Regions from separate parts of the Homo sapiens genome. Here all the other regions are linked to region 1. The links are contacts of gene promoters, found by promoter capture Hi-C in blood cells and fetal thymus (Javierre and others, 2016). All regions are on one chromosome and are shown on one strand. Each heading gives the region's core, a stretch centred on a gene start or on the middle of the fragment in contact. The rest is flanking DNA. Distances are from core to core; before and after follow the strand shown. Region 1 holds the start of POLB (DNA polymerase beta). Region 2 overlaps GOLGA7 (golgin A7). Region 3 overlaps GPAT4-AS1 (GPAT4 and GINS4 antisense RNA 1).

The links. The method cuts DNA at HindIII sites, captures the fragments that hold promoters and counts their contacts. A CHiCAGO score of 5 or more calls a contact.
Region 2: a contact is called between a fragment that was not itself captured here and the fragment with the promoter of POLB in region 1, in 1 of 17 cell types (neutrophils). The highest score is 5.9, in neutrophils.
Region 3: a contact is called between a fragment that was not itself captured here and the fragment with the promoter of POLB in region 1, in 1 of 17 cell types (neutrophils). The highest score is 6.2, in neutrophils.

The regions. Positions count from the first base shown.
Region 1 is chr8:42,336,156-42,340,450 of GRCh38, forward strand. It overlaps POLB (DNA polymerase beta), which reads left to right and starts at 2,339. Exons shown (of 14, transcript NM_002690.3): 1 at 2,339-2,530; 2 at 2,857-2,914. The coding sequence starts at 2,470. The HindIII fragment of the contact is 11,887 bases long and covers 1-4,295 here.
Region 2 is chr8:41,494,353-41,498,647 of GRCh38, forward strand. GOLGA7 (golgin A7) reads left to right here. Exons shown (of 5, transcript NM_001002296.2): 2 at 3,157-3,309. Among named protein-coding and RNA genes, the nearest start is that of GOLGA7, 5.9 kb to the left of the region's middle. The HindIII fragment of the contact is 6,770 bases long and covers 1-4,295 here.
Region 3 is chr8:41,548,935-41,553,229 of GRCh38, forward strand. The region is part of intron 1 of GPAT4-AS1 (GPAT4 and GINS4 antisense RNA 1); the gene reads right to left. Among named protein-coding and RNA genes, the nearest start is that of GINS4, 22 kb to the left of the region's middle. The HindIII fragment of the contact is 3,862 bases long and covers 290-4,151 here.

The DNA of each region.
Region 1 (4,295 bases), core at 1,089-3,588:
TGAGATGGGGGAAAGTTAAGGAGAAGCTGGTGGGGCAAGAGTCAGGAGTTCTTTAGGACATTTTATCTTTGAGATGCCTATTATGGACTAGAGCTATCCAGTAGACAGCCTGATGTATGAGACTGGAACTCAAGGGAGAGGTCAAGACTTGAACTATGAGTTTAGGAGACTTTCAAGCTAGACATGCCATTTAAACAGGTAAAACTGGACAAGTTGGAAAAGCTGGTTAGAAGACTGAAGTGTGAAGCCATTTCCCATAAAGGCTGGAGAGTGGAGGAGGAGCTGGGAACCAGTGCTCAGGCGCACATGTGCGCACACACACACCCTGCTGAGGACTGGCCAGTGAGGAAAAAGGAAGCCCAGAGCATGTGGAATCTTAGAAGCCAATTGAAGCAAGTTATTTCAAGAAGAACTTTGTGAAGCAGATCAAATGTCGGTTGTTCTAAGACGATAAGGACAGATAATGGATTATTTTCCTTGGTTTCTCTGGCACTAATTTTAAAAATATAGTATTTGTAAAAATGGGCTAGGTGCAGTGGCTCACGCCTGTAATCTAGCACTTTAATAGGCCAAGGCGGGTGGATCACTTGAGGTCAGGGGTTTGAGACCAGCCTGGCCAACATGGTGAAACCCCATCTCTACTAAAAATACAAAAATTAGCTGGGCATGGTGGCAGGATCCTGTAATCCCAGCTACTCGGGAGGCTGAGGCAGGAGAATCACTTGAACCCGGGAGGCAGAGGTTGCAGTGAGCCGAGATCGTGCCATTGCACTCTGGCCTGCGGGACAAGAGTGAAACTCTGTCTCAAAACAAAAAAATTTGTAAAACTGATCCCACAATTCCCTACATTTGTAACTTTTAAAATTCAGAGGTAAATACATTTTTATTTAAGGAGGAATAATTCTTCAGAGCAAAATAATCTGAATATCACCTGGAATAGAGATTGGACAGAAAAAAGTGTGAACAGGGAAAACTAGGACAAGTCATATATGTAAATGAGAGTATAAAGAGTAAATGAGAGTGGTCACTGCTCACTGCAGCTTAACTAATCAGATAGTTAAGTTGCAGGCATAAAGTTTTTTTAACTTTTATTCCTCAAGTAATAAATTGAGGAAAATACAAATATGTACAAAATTTTTACAAAAGCTATCCATAAAAGGGCAAGTAGTAATATATAGAAAAGATCTACCAGATTAGTAACAAACTACCCCCATTAGGAAAATGGTAAATGATATGAATAGGAAATTCAAAAAAAGAAGAATTACAGATTTCCAATAAGCATAACTTAAGATATACACTGATATTGTAAGGAAACACAATCACCACAACCTTGCTAATCAAAGAAACTAATGATATTTATTGGAAAATAATGGGAATTTTTAATAGACTGGGTTAGAAGACTAGAAGTGTACGTCCCAAAATATTAATAGTTCAGCTGTAGGGTGAGATCACTGATTTTAATTTTCTCCTTTTATACATTTTTCCAGATTTCTCTACAGCAACTACGTATCATTTTGTAATAAATTTTAATTTTTCGATGCACAAAGCAATTGCCTGGAATTGCAGTTCGATATGAACCCAGGAGTTACGCTTGTAAAATAAACTATTGCTGATGTGACATTTCCATTTCTCAAGCAGACTGTAAATTTCTCAGATGTAGGTCATCATGTTATAATTAGGGTTCCATTGCTCATGATCTAGATGAAACACTTCTCCCTTTCTTGTGGTCTCTTCATTAATTTGGTCCCTACCGCAAAGGCAGGGGGATTAAAAATAAAATATCTTTTGACACTGGTTGGCAGGTGTACTAACACGTGTGCGGGAGGATTCCTGTTCTCGGCATGGTTCACGCCGGGCTCCGGCAGCGCCCTAGTACGTAAGGGGCTGCACTGGAGTGTGGACTGCCCGGTATCCTTAGAGAAAGTTTTGACAGTGTGACGCCAGTGTCGCCTCTAACCACGTACAAAACGCGCCATGCATTGGGTAGCTATTACAGTGCACATTTTTGTGCAGGAAGCTACCCCACCAGCGCAAGTATTTCAGAATCAAGATCGCACTCCCGTTTCCCCTTCTAGGGAAAGGATTCCAGATAAACACTGAGAAAACAGATTTAATATCTTAGGTCAAAACTCCAGGTCTTCCCATAGGAAGGCCCCTGGGCTGTCATTCTGAGGTGCCTATTTCCCCCGCGCCGTGTCCACGTCCACGAGTCCACGAACCCTCCGAGTTCTCTCTCCTCACCTGCCGAGGGCTCGCCCCTCTAGCCCCGCCCCGCCCCGCCCAGGACGCGTGACGTCACAACAAGCGCCGTGCGCCCCGCCCCCCATCGGGGGCAACCATTGTTCCGCCGGTCGCGCCGGAGCTGGGTTGCTCCTGCTCCCGTCTCCAAGTCCTGGTACCTCCTTCAAGCTGGGAGAGGGCTCTAGTCCCTGGTTCTGAACACTCTGGGGTTCTCGGGTGCAGGCCGCCATGAGCAAACGGAAGGCGCCGCAGGAGACTCTCAACGGGGGAATCACCGACATGCTCACAGGTTAGCACCGGGCCGGGCCCCGCTGGCTTTCTTCTTTCCTTCCAGCCTCTTCCCCTGCCTTCCTTCTCTCCCACACCGACAGTCCAGTGGGTAGGGTAGGTTCCTTGCAGCGGGTCGTCTTCCGTGGGGATCTCCCTCCGGCGCCCCTGGCTGGTTGTCAGTCCTGCCGGCTACACCTGGGCCATCGCTTGGGCTGCTTTTGGTCTGGCCCTTGGAGGAAACGGGTGGTCACTGTCTCTTAGAGGCTGCCATATCCCCTTCCAGAAAACAGTTCTCGTTTGTTTACTCGTGGTTCTTGTTCACCCGAGCCTTCTGTTGCCTTTCAGAACTCGCAAACTTTGAGAAGAACGTGAGCCAAGCTATCCACAAGTACAATGCTTACAGGTGGGACAGTGCAGCATTCTCGGGTAGCATACGTTCTGGGATACCCTGTTTAGTGTGGCAATTAACAGGACTGAGGGCCCAGTGGATATTTGGTCCATCTGCAAGAGCGGGAAAAAGCAAGAATCGAGGCTGGTACCTTACTATTTCTTGAAGAATGTGGGCAGTGCGTTATAGGATCAGTTCAGATAAGTTCCCAATTCTGATTGCAGATAGCTGTAGCCTGATACGTATTTTGTCATCATCAAACATGAATTACTAGAAATGCGGTGTAATTTTAACCGTAATGAAAGACAGCGGATGAAGTCCATACTGTGAAATATATGTGGTTCAAGGAATCACATTTTTTCTTTTGGTTGGTCTAAAGTTGATCCTGTGGGATCCTGATCCTGATCCTTGTTCCTTGTTCATGGGATCCTGTCCTTGTTCATCTCACCAGGGGCCTTATCCTATTCATTCTTTCCACATCCACCTGCTTCTACTCCTTAGCCTATATTTATTTATTTATTTATTTTTATTTGAGACGGGGTCTCGCTGTGGTATGATCATGGCTCATTGCAGCTTCAACCTTCCAGCCTCAAGTGATCTTCCCATCTCAGCCTCCTGAGTGGCTGGGACTACTACAGGCGCACGCCACCACACCCAGCTAATTTTTTTTTCTTTCTTTTTTTTTCTTTTTTTTTTTGTAGAGACCGGGTTTTGCTATGTTGCCCAGGCTGATCTCCAACTCCTAAACTCAAATGGTCCACACACCTTGGTCTCCCAGAGTGCTGGGATTCCAGGCATCAGCCTCGGTGTCAGCTCTCCTTAGCCTATAAATATGTGCAAGTCCCTCAGCTCTTAAAAGCAAAACCAAAACAATCTTAACTTCCCTCTAGCTAGCACCTTCCCTCTTTTCTCACTTTATGGTGAATCTTCTTGAAAAATCTTCATTCCTTGCCTGGACTTCTTAATACCTAATCATTTACTCAAGAAGTCCCAGTCCTTGCCTGGACCTACCAGTGCTCTGAAAATCCGCTCACCTACGTCTCATCTTATTGGACTCTCTGTGGCATTCACCCCTGGCTCATGCTGTGAATATCTCTTGACTTCTGTAATGGCACTCTTTCTGGTCTTTCATCTCTTCTTCTGTCTTACCTTTTAATGTTGGTATAGGTTGAGCATCCCTAATCTGAAAATTTGAAATGCTCTAAAATCTGGATGATTGCCGACATGATGACACAAGTGGAAAATTCCACATCCGATCTCATGTAGTAGGTGGCAGTCAAAATGGTCAAAACTTTGTTTCATGCACAAAATTATTAAAACGACTATATAAGATTACCTTCAGGGTATGTGCGTAAGGTGTGTGAGAAATATGACTGAATTTTGTATTTAGACTTGT
Region 2 (4,295 bases), core at 950-3,449, 840 kb before region 1:
GTAATTCTGATATGAAAGAAATAAGATGTTTCTGGGTTGAATCCCATGGTTTTGAATTGTATTGTAAAGAAATATAAATAATTCAATGACTTATAACATAGGCACATCAAATGTGATTGGAATTATTTAGACTTTTGTAGACTTATCGGTGGACAAACTGAAGGCATTAACGTAGGCATAATTAGGTGAACGTAACAGCTTACCATTTTTGTTTGCTGAGCTCTCCTCAGTCTGTTTTCGTGAATGAGAACTCACAGTTTCCCAGATGACCAGCCTTGACACCACATCTACAAGGGGTAGCTCAGTGAAGAAACACTGCCCCTGCGTTTAAAGGCCGTCTTGACCCACCTAGCCTTTGTCCAAATCTCTAATATTCCTGGAAATTTAAAGTAACTCCTTTTGAAAAATGGGTAGAGCCAACACCACTTTAAAGTTTGCATTAAATTCATGCATGCCACTAGCCCATTGACTCCTCACATTTTCCACACAACGGACAAAACAATGACTACAACTGCTTCTAACTTAAAGAGTTGTCATAGCTTAAGGATGGTCATGAATTGTTTTACACTTTAAAAGATTATGTTCTTGAGGCCAGGTGCAGGTGGCTCTTTGGGAGGCCAGGGGGGTGGATCACATGAGGCTAGGAGCCTGAGACCAGCCTGGCAACATGGCAAAACCTCGTCTCTACTAAAAATACAAAAATTAGTAGGGAATGGTGGTGCACGCCTGTAATCCCAGCTACTCGGGAGGCTGAGACACGAGAATCACTTGATCCTGGGACCAGAGGTTACAGTGAGCCAAGATTGCGCCACTGCACTCCAGCCAGGGTGACAGAGTGAGACTCTGTCTCAAAAAAAAAAAAAAAAAAAAAAAAGATTACATTCTTGGGAATAGTGAATAGTAGGGCTCATACTGTATGTTGAGGGTTTTTTTTCTTTCTTTCTTTTTTTGAGACAGGGTCTCACTCTGTCACCCAGACTGGAGTGCAGTGGTGAGATCTCAGTTCACTGCAACCTCCACTTCCCAGGCTCCAGCAATCCTCCCACCTCAGCCTCCTGAGTAGCTAGGACTATAGGCATGCACCACCACGCCTGGCTAATTTTTGCATTTTTAGTAGAGACAGAGTTTCACCATGTTGCCCAGGCTGGTCTCAAACTCCTGAGCTCAAGTGATCCACCCAGCTCAACTTCCCAAGTGCTGGGATTACAGGAATGAGCCACCACGCCAGCCTGATTTTTTTTTTTCTGAGTCGGTTTCTATTATAAAGAAAGATTTAATAGGTTCACAGAGACAGGAAAGGAGAAAAAAAAAAAGCCAAACAAAAAAGTCTTTTAAATAAGGACTTCATAAAAGAGAGAATTCATACGTAAGTAGTTATTAATTTTAGAAATAAGGGAATCCTTATGCGAGAGAAGGCCTAGAGTGCAGACAGATAAGAATGGCAGTATTGGATGATTGCTCTCCTAATGGGCCTTGAAAGTCCTGGGATGAAGTAGCAAAATTTGAAATCTGTTATACAAAGTACTATTAGAAGACAGTAAAGTAATATTGGAAGAATAAAGTAAAAGCAGATGATTGAGTGAAACAATGGATGACAGTACAGGTTCTTTCTTATGTGAAATATGTGGAACCAGAAGTATTTCAGTTTTTGGGGTTTTTTTAGATTTTGAAATATTTGTTTATACTAATGAGATATCTTGGGAATGGGATCCAAGTCTAAACACGAAATTCATTATGTTTTATATCCACCTTATACATATAACCTGAAGGTAATTTTATACAATATTTTAAATGACTTTATGAGACAAAGTGTGTGTACACTGAACCATCTTATCACCCTTTGTGAGCACGCTTGCATGGGAGAATCTGGCTGTGCATGGAAAAGATACATGGCAGCTGATGGGGGCTGGAAGGGTCTTTTTCTCTTGGGGACACTGAATAAACTATGTGTTGTGCGCCTGCATTTTGACTGTGACCCCTCACATGAGGTCGGGTTTGGAATTTCCCACTTGTGGTATCATGTCAGTGCTCAAAAGTTTCAGATTTTGGAGCCTTTCTGACTTCAGAATTTAAGATCAGGGATGCTCAACCTGTGGTAGTATTAGTGTAAATTTAAGATAATGGTGTCACCAAATAGAAAGAGGTAATAAGAATGACTTAATGTGAAAAATTGTTTATTAGCTTGAGATTTTACCTTAACAAATTTTACCTTATTTAGTAACAAGATAATTGCTTCAAAAGAGATAGGCTGAGTAAACAGAATATAGAACCTACGCCTTTTGATCCTTCTGCTAAAATGCCATTTTTTTTTTTTTTGCCTAGTAAATTCCAGTCTTTAGTTACTCAATTTAAGATTACCTGCCCTTCCCAGATAAAGGGAATTTCTCCTTGCTTTTGTGTCCCCACTAGGCTTTATATTTGCCTATATGATAGTACCCTGTCAGTTTATTGCTTTTTTTTTTTTTTTTTTTTTGAGACGGAGTCTCGCTCTGTCACCCAGGCTGGAGTGCAGTGGCGCAGTCTCGGCTCACTGCAAGCTCCACCTCCCGGGTTCACGCCATTCTCCTGCCTCAGCCTCCCCAGTAGCTGGGGCTATAGGCACCCGCCACCATGCCCGGCTAATTTTTTTTGGTATTTTTAGTAGAGACGGGGTTTCACCATGTTAGCCAGGATGGTCTCCATCTCCTGACCTCGTGATCCGCCCACCTCAGCCTCCCAAAGTGCTGGGATTACAGGCATGAGCCACCGCACCTGGCCAGCTTACTGCATTTTTATGTTTACATTGCCTGTTCTGCTTGCATAATTAAACTCTTAAGGATTGAGACAGTGCTTTATCTTGAGATTTTTCATAGTATCTGATAGTAGGCGCTCAGTAAGTGTGAAACTAAATGAATGGAAAGAGGAATAGAGCCTAAAGTTACTTGAAATTTAGTAGAAAGAATAAAGAAGTACCTTATTGAGCCTTGAAGCTATCCAGTATTTATAAGAGGGATAAAATTAAACAAATTAAGCAGTTTTGGTAACTTAGGCCCAGATTTAGTCACCAAAAAAATTGTCAACTAAGAATGGTGAGAAAACAAGATAAATTAATGATAGCATGCATTAGTTGATTTTTTTTTTCCAAAACTTAATTTTTAAATATTTTCTTCTCTACAGATTGATAGGCAGCAGTTTGAAGAAACAGTTCGAACTCTAAATAACCTTTATGCAGAAGCAGAGAAGCTCGGCGGCCAGTCATATCTCGAAGGTTGTTTGGCTTGTTTAACAGCATATACCATCTTCCTATGCATGGAAACTCATTATGAGAAGGTAATGCTACATTTGTTTTCACAAAAATCTCTTAAAATCATGAAGAAGGCAAGTTTATTACACATTGATGCTTACATGGTGATAGTTGCCGTAAAATATTTAGGGGCATTTATCATTCAAATTGTGTTGTTCCTGTGTACAGAGGCACATAGTCCTGAGTCTTTCAAAACAGGTTGCAGTTGGTATGTCCACTTGCAGATGATGTGTCAATGTTCAGACTGGCCTACACTTAAGAAGAATGTAGAAAATCTATATGTTCTCTTCCTACTCAGCTTTCTGGGAATGTTTTTACTTTATTTCCCTAAATTTCACTCTCTTCTCCCACCTGAGTTCTTACTTTCTCTTTCCAGCTGCCTACTAGCTCCCGAATTGCTGATTTCTCAACTTAAGATGACCAGAAGTCAAACCTCCCACCTCCCCATTTTGTCAATAGCACCCCTGTCTTTTCAGTACCATCTTTGGGCATGAGGGATGAAGAAGAGGGAAAAATTAATCTGTTTTCAAAGACTGAAGTATCTTTCATTTTCCCAGTCATTAACTTTTTGTGATTTCCTCTGCCACTATCCTGGGTTATGCCCTTATTCTGTCTCTCCTAGACTATTGAAATAGTCTGACTTGTCTCATTTCTTCCCTCCTTTTGCTTTTCTAAACTATCTGCTGTTGTTTTTATAAAGCGCAGATTTACTTCCCCTACTACTTCTGCCAAGTCGGAGACCTTCCCTGGATTCCCATGTTTTACCACTGAGTAAAATTCAAGGCCCTGCTCAAGTTGACCTCAGCTTACCTTTCCAGCGCTACCTCCCATTCCTTCCTTCACTTTCTCCCTCAGCCAAACTCCATCCCTCACTGGTCAGCAAACATACCCACTGTGGTTCTCCTCCACCTGGAATGCTATCTTCCCAGGTTCAAATCCCACCAGTCCCTTAGGTCTCACTTCCATCTAACTTGTTCTCTGTTTTAGTCAGAATTCTTTCTCTTCTCTTGTG
Region 3 (4,295 bases), core at 971-3,470, 790 kb before region 1:
GTACAAGTTTTCATATGAGAAACACTGGAGTGATTTGGGCACACATAGCTTTCTGGTCGGCCTGCAATCTCACTTCCAGAATAGGTCATGAAAATAACAGTGAGAAATGGCCTCTCCCACACCCAGCTTCACGTGTTAAAGCGTGTGCTGTCCACTCCCACTTCTGTTTGCAGACGTGGCTGCCCTCAACCTCCGGACAAGTGATTTGGTCCTCAATCCAGGTGAGACTGTAGCAGGCCTCCTTTGTTTGTGTAGAAGATCATCAACTTTGCCATCTTCTGGCATCTGAAGCTTTCTGATCTCCAGTCAACAACATAACGTGTACCCTTTGGGTCCTCTTTAGTGAGCTCATGGGTAGGCTGCTGCCCACACTCTTGTCAACAGTTTAACAACTAACACGAGAGAGCCGAAGGGCTGTTTCTTCAGTCCATTTCTCTTGGTTCTCCAACTTTTTTTTTGAGACGGAGTCTCACTTTGTCGCCCAGGCTAGGGTGCAGTGGCGTGATCTTGGCTCACGGCAACATTTGCCTCCTGGAGTCCAAGCGATTCTCCTGACTCAGCCTCCAGAGTAGCTGGGACTACAGGCGCATACCACGGCGCCCAGCTAATTTTTGTATTTTTTGTAGATATGGATGGTGTCTCACCATGATGCCCACACTGATCTCGAACTTCTGAGCTCTGGCAATCCACCCACCTCAGCCTCCCAAAGTGCTAGGATTATAGGCATGAGCCACCACTCCCAGCCATCCAACTTTTACTTCTGTATCAAACTGGATCCCATTAGTCAGTATTTCTGGATGAATGTTTTAGTTCTTTGCTTTTAGCAAAGAGACAGCCATGTGAAAAACATTTCCATGTTTTCTGAAAATTAGAACTGAAGGCATTATCTATTACATATCCATTGTTTCTATATAAGAATCCCTGTAATAAATTTTTCTCAGAATTCAGTGCAAGTAAAAGTTTATATTTTCAAACTTTATGGTTCATTTTATCAGACAAATGAGTCCTATCTGTTCCCCTTCCCGGCCTTCCTACCAGGAACTCAGAGCCACTTTGTGTGCCCCTGCCTCCCTCTGAGCTTCCTTGTGTCTTTCCTTAAATAGTTTCCGATCTCCTTATGATACCTACAGTTTCAATCTTCTATTTTGCCTTAATTTTAAAAGCTACCCCAAATTTGGGGAAGAATTACATAAAAGATATATAAGTACATATTAGTAACTTGGATATATATTAGTTCCCACTTTTTAAAACATGTATGGGAATGAGTGATTTATAAGCCATTTGACAGCATATGAATTCCTAAGTAGGAAAATTCATAAGCAAAAGTGGTAATGAAGGCAGGAGGTGTAGTGTCCTCTCACTCCAGCACTTGTTTAAAAAGAGTGGCCAGGTGAGGTAAGTGACCTAGTAACAACAGCAGGTGCCAGGTATAACTCCATTCACTTTAGTCAACAAACAGGTAGGCTGGCTGGGTGCGGTGCCTCACGCCTGTAATCCCAGCACTTTGAGAGGCCGAGGCAGGCAGATCACTTGAGATCAGGAGTTCAAGACCAGCCTGACCAACATGGTGAAACCCCCATCTCTACTAAAAATACAAAAAAAAAATTAGCCGGGCATGGTGGCGGGTGCCTGTAATTCCAGCTACTCGGGAGGCTGAGGCAGGAGAATTGCTTGAACCCAGGAGGTGAAGGTTGCAGGTGAGCCGAGATGATGCCACTGCACTCCAGCCTGGATGACAGAGTGAGACTGCATCTCAAAAAAAAAAAAAAAAAGGTGGGGTTAGACATTGTGGTATGTGCTGCACATTCAGAGAAGAAAGCCCCTGTCTTAAAGCAGCTTACAGTCTAGCGAGGGAGACCAACAAAAACCAAATCACAGCATACTATGCTTGTATAAAGGTAGGAATGGGCAGGGCACAGTGGCACACTTCTGTAATCCCAGCACTTTGGGGGGCCAAGATGGAAAGATTGTTTGAGCCCAGGAGTTCTAGATCAGCCTAGGCAATACAGCAAAACCTCACCTCTACCAAAAATACTAAAGCCAGGTGTGGTGGAATGTGCTTGTAGTCCCAGCTACTCAGGAGGCTGGGGTGGGAGGATGGTTTGTTTGAGCCCAACAGGAGGACATTGCAGTGAGCCAAGATGGCACTATTGCACTCCAGCCTGGGCAACAGAGCTAGACCATGCCTCAAAAAAAAAAAAAAAAGAAAAAGAGAAAAGAAAAAATGAATGAACAGGGGGTATTATGAAAAAACACAGGAAGAACTCGAAAGACTGGAAGAGTCCTGAAGTCTTCCCAGAAGAGGTGGTACCCAAGCCAAGACTTGAAACACTGGAGAGCTAGCCAGGCTGAGGAAGGAAGAGAGGATGGCTACTGGAGGCAGAAAGGTCACATGCAAAGGCACAGAAGCCACAGGGTGGATCCAGTACTCTGGAAACTCCCAGGAGTTGGGCATGGCAGGTGCATCAGACAAGATTCGGGGATAGGAGGAGAGGCAGTTTCCCATCTTGGAGGAGTCTTATAGGAGTCTCATGGGAGACAGGTTTTCAGACAAAAGTCTTCAGGAGTCTGATTTGTCATGCTAAAATGTAAATGTATGAATTTTGCATGAAAACATTTAGAAGGCTCTGAAAGATTTTAATATTTGATATAATCAGTTTTTTTGTTTGTTTGTTTGTTTTTTGCAGGGGGGGGTGGTGGGTGGACAGAGTTTTGCTCTTGTTCCCCAGGCTGAAGTACAGTGGCGCAATCTTGGCTCACTGCAACCTCCGCCTCCCAGATTCAAGTGATTCTCCTGCCTCAGCCTCCCGAGTAGCTGAGATTACAGGCATGCGCCACCACGCCCGGCTAAGTTTTGTAGTTTTAGTAGAGATGGGGTTTCACCATTTTGGTCAGGCTGGTCTCAAACTCCTGACCTCAGGTGATTCGCCTGCCTCAGCCTCCCAAATGGCATAAGCCATTGCACCCGCCTGATAGAATCCGTTTTACATTTTTATTTTATGTATTTATTATTTATTATTATTATTACCTTTTTTTTTTTTTTGAGGCAGTCTTGCTCTGTCACCCAGGCTGGAGTGCAGTGGCACAATCTTGACTCACTGCAACCTCCACCTCCCAGGTTCAAGCAATTCTCATGCCTCAGCCTCTGGAGTAGCTGGAACTATAGGCACATGCCACCACACCCAGCTAATTTTTGTATTTTAGCAGAGACGGGGTTTGTCTATGTTGGCCAGGCTGGTCTTGAATTCCTGACCTCAAGTGATCCGCCTGCCTTGGCCTCCCAAAGTGCTGGGATTACAGTCATGAGCCAGCACACCCAGCCCAGTTTTACGTTTTTAGAAATCCAGTTCACAGAGAAATCCCTCTGGTGACTGTGGAGAATGGAGGTCACACTGGAGGGTTAGGAGCCAGGGCTGTGTGGGCAAATCCAAGCCAGAAGGAATGAGGGTCTTGTAGTACATGCAGGAAGAGGTAACCTGGCAGTGTACTGGGCCTTCTGCTGCTGTAGTGGTGGACTAGGCCATATGGATCATTTTTAGTGAAGACAAACACTGGGTGAAACATAAAAAGCATTTTTCTAAAGCCATCAAGGAGCTAACAAGCTAGTGAGGAATTGTTGCACCAAGATCTAGAAGACCACAGTCAAAAGAGGTCAATACAGGCCGGGCGTGGTGGCTCACGTGTGTAATCCCAGCACTTTGGGAGGCCGAGGCAGGCGGATCACGAGGTCAGGAGACTGAGACCATTCTGGCAAACACTGTGAAACCCCGTCTCTACTAAAACTACAAAAAATTAGCCAGGCGTGGTGGCGGGCTCCTGTAGTTCCAGCTACTCAGGAGGCTGAGGCAGGAGAATGGCATGAACCCGAGGGGTGGAGCTTGCAGTGAGCTGAGATCACACTACTGCACTCCAGCCTGGGCAACAGAGCGAGACTCCATCTCAAAAAAAAAAAAAAAAAAAAAAAAAAGCGGGGGTCAATACAGCATTTGCCCAGGCCAAGTGGTAGCTGAGAGACAGCAGTGCTTCCAACAGCCTCAAGCAGCGATTTTAAATCTGGGTTTCATGGACCATGCAATTCAGAAGATTCATGAACTTGGCTAAGAAAAAAATGAAAAAAAAATACATTTTTTTTTGCACTAACCTCTAAATGAAGCTTAGATTTCCCTTCTATTATGAATCTAGGCAACAAGCCACAGTAATATATGTGTGTGTGTGTGTGTGTATATACATTTTTTGAGATGGAGTCTCGCTGTGTCACCCAGGCTGGAGTGCAGTGGCGCGATCTCAGCTCACTG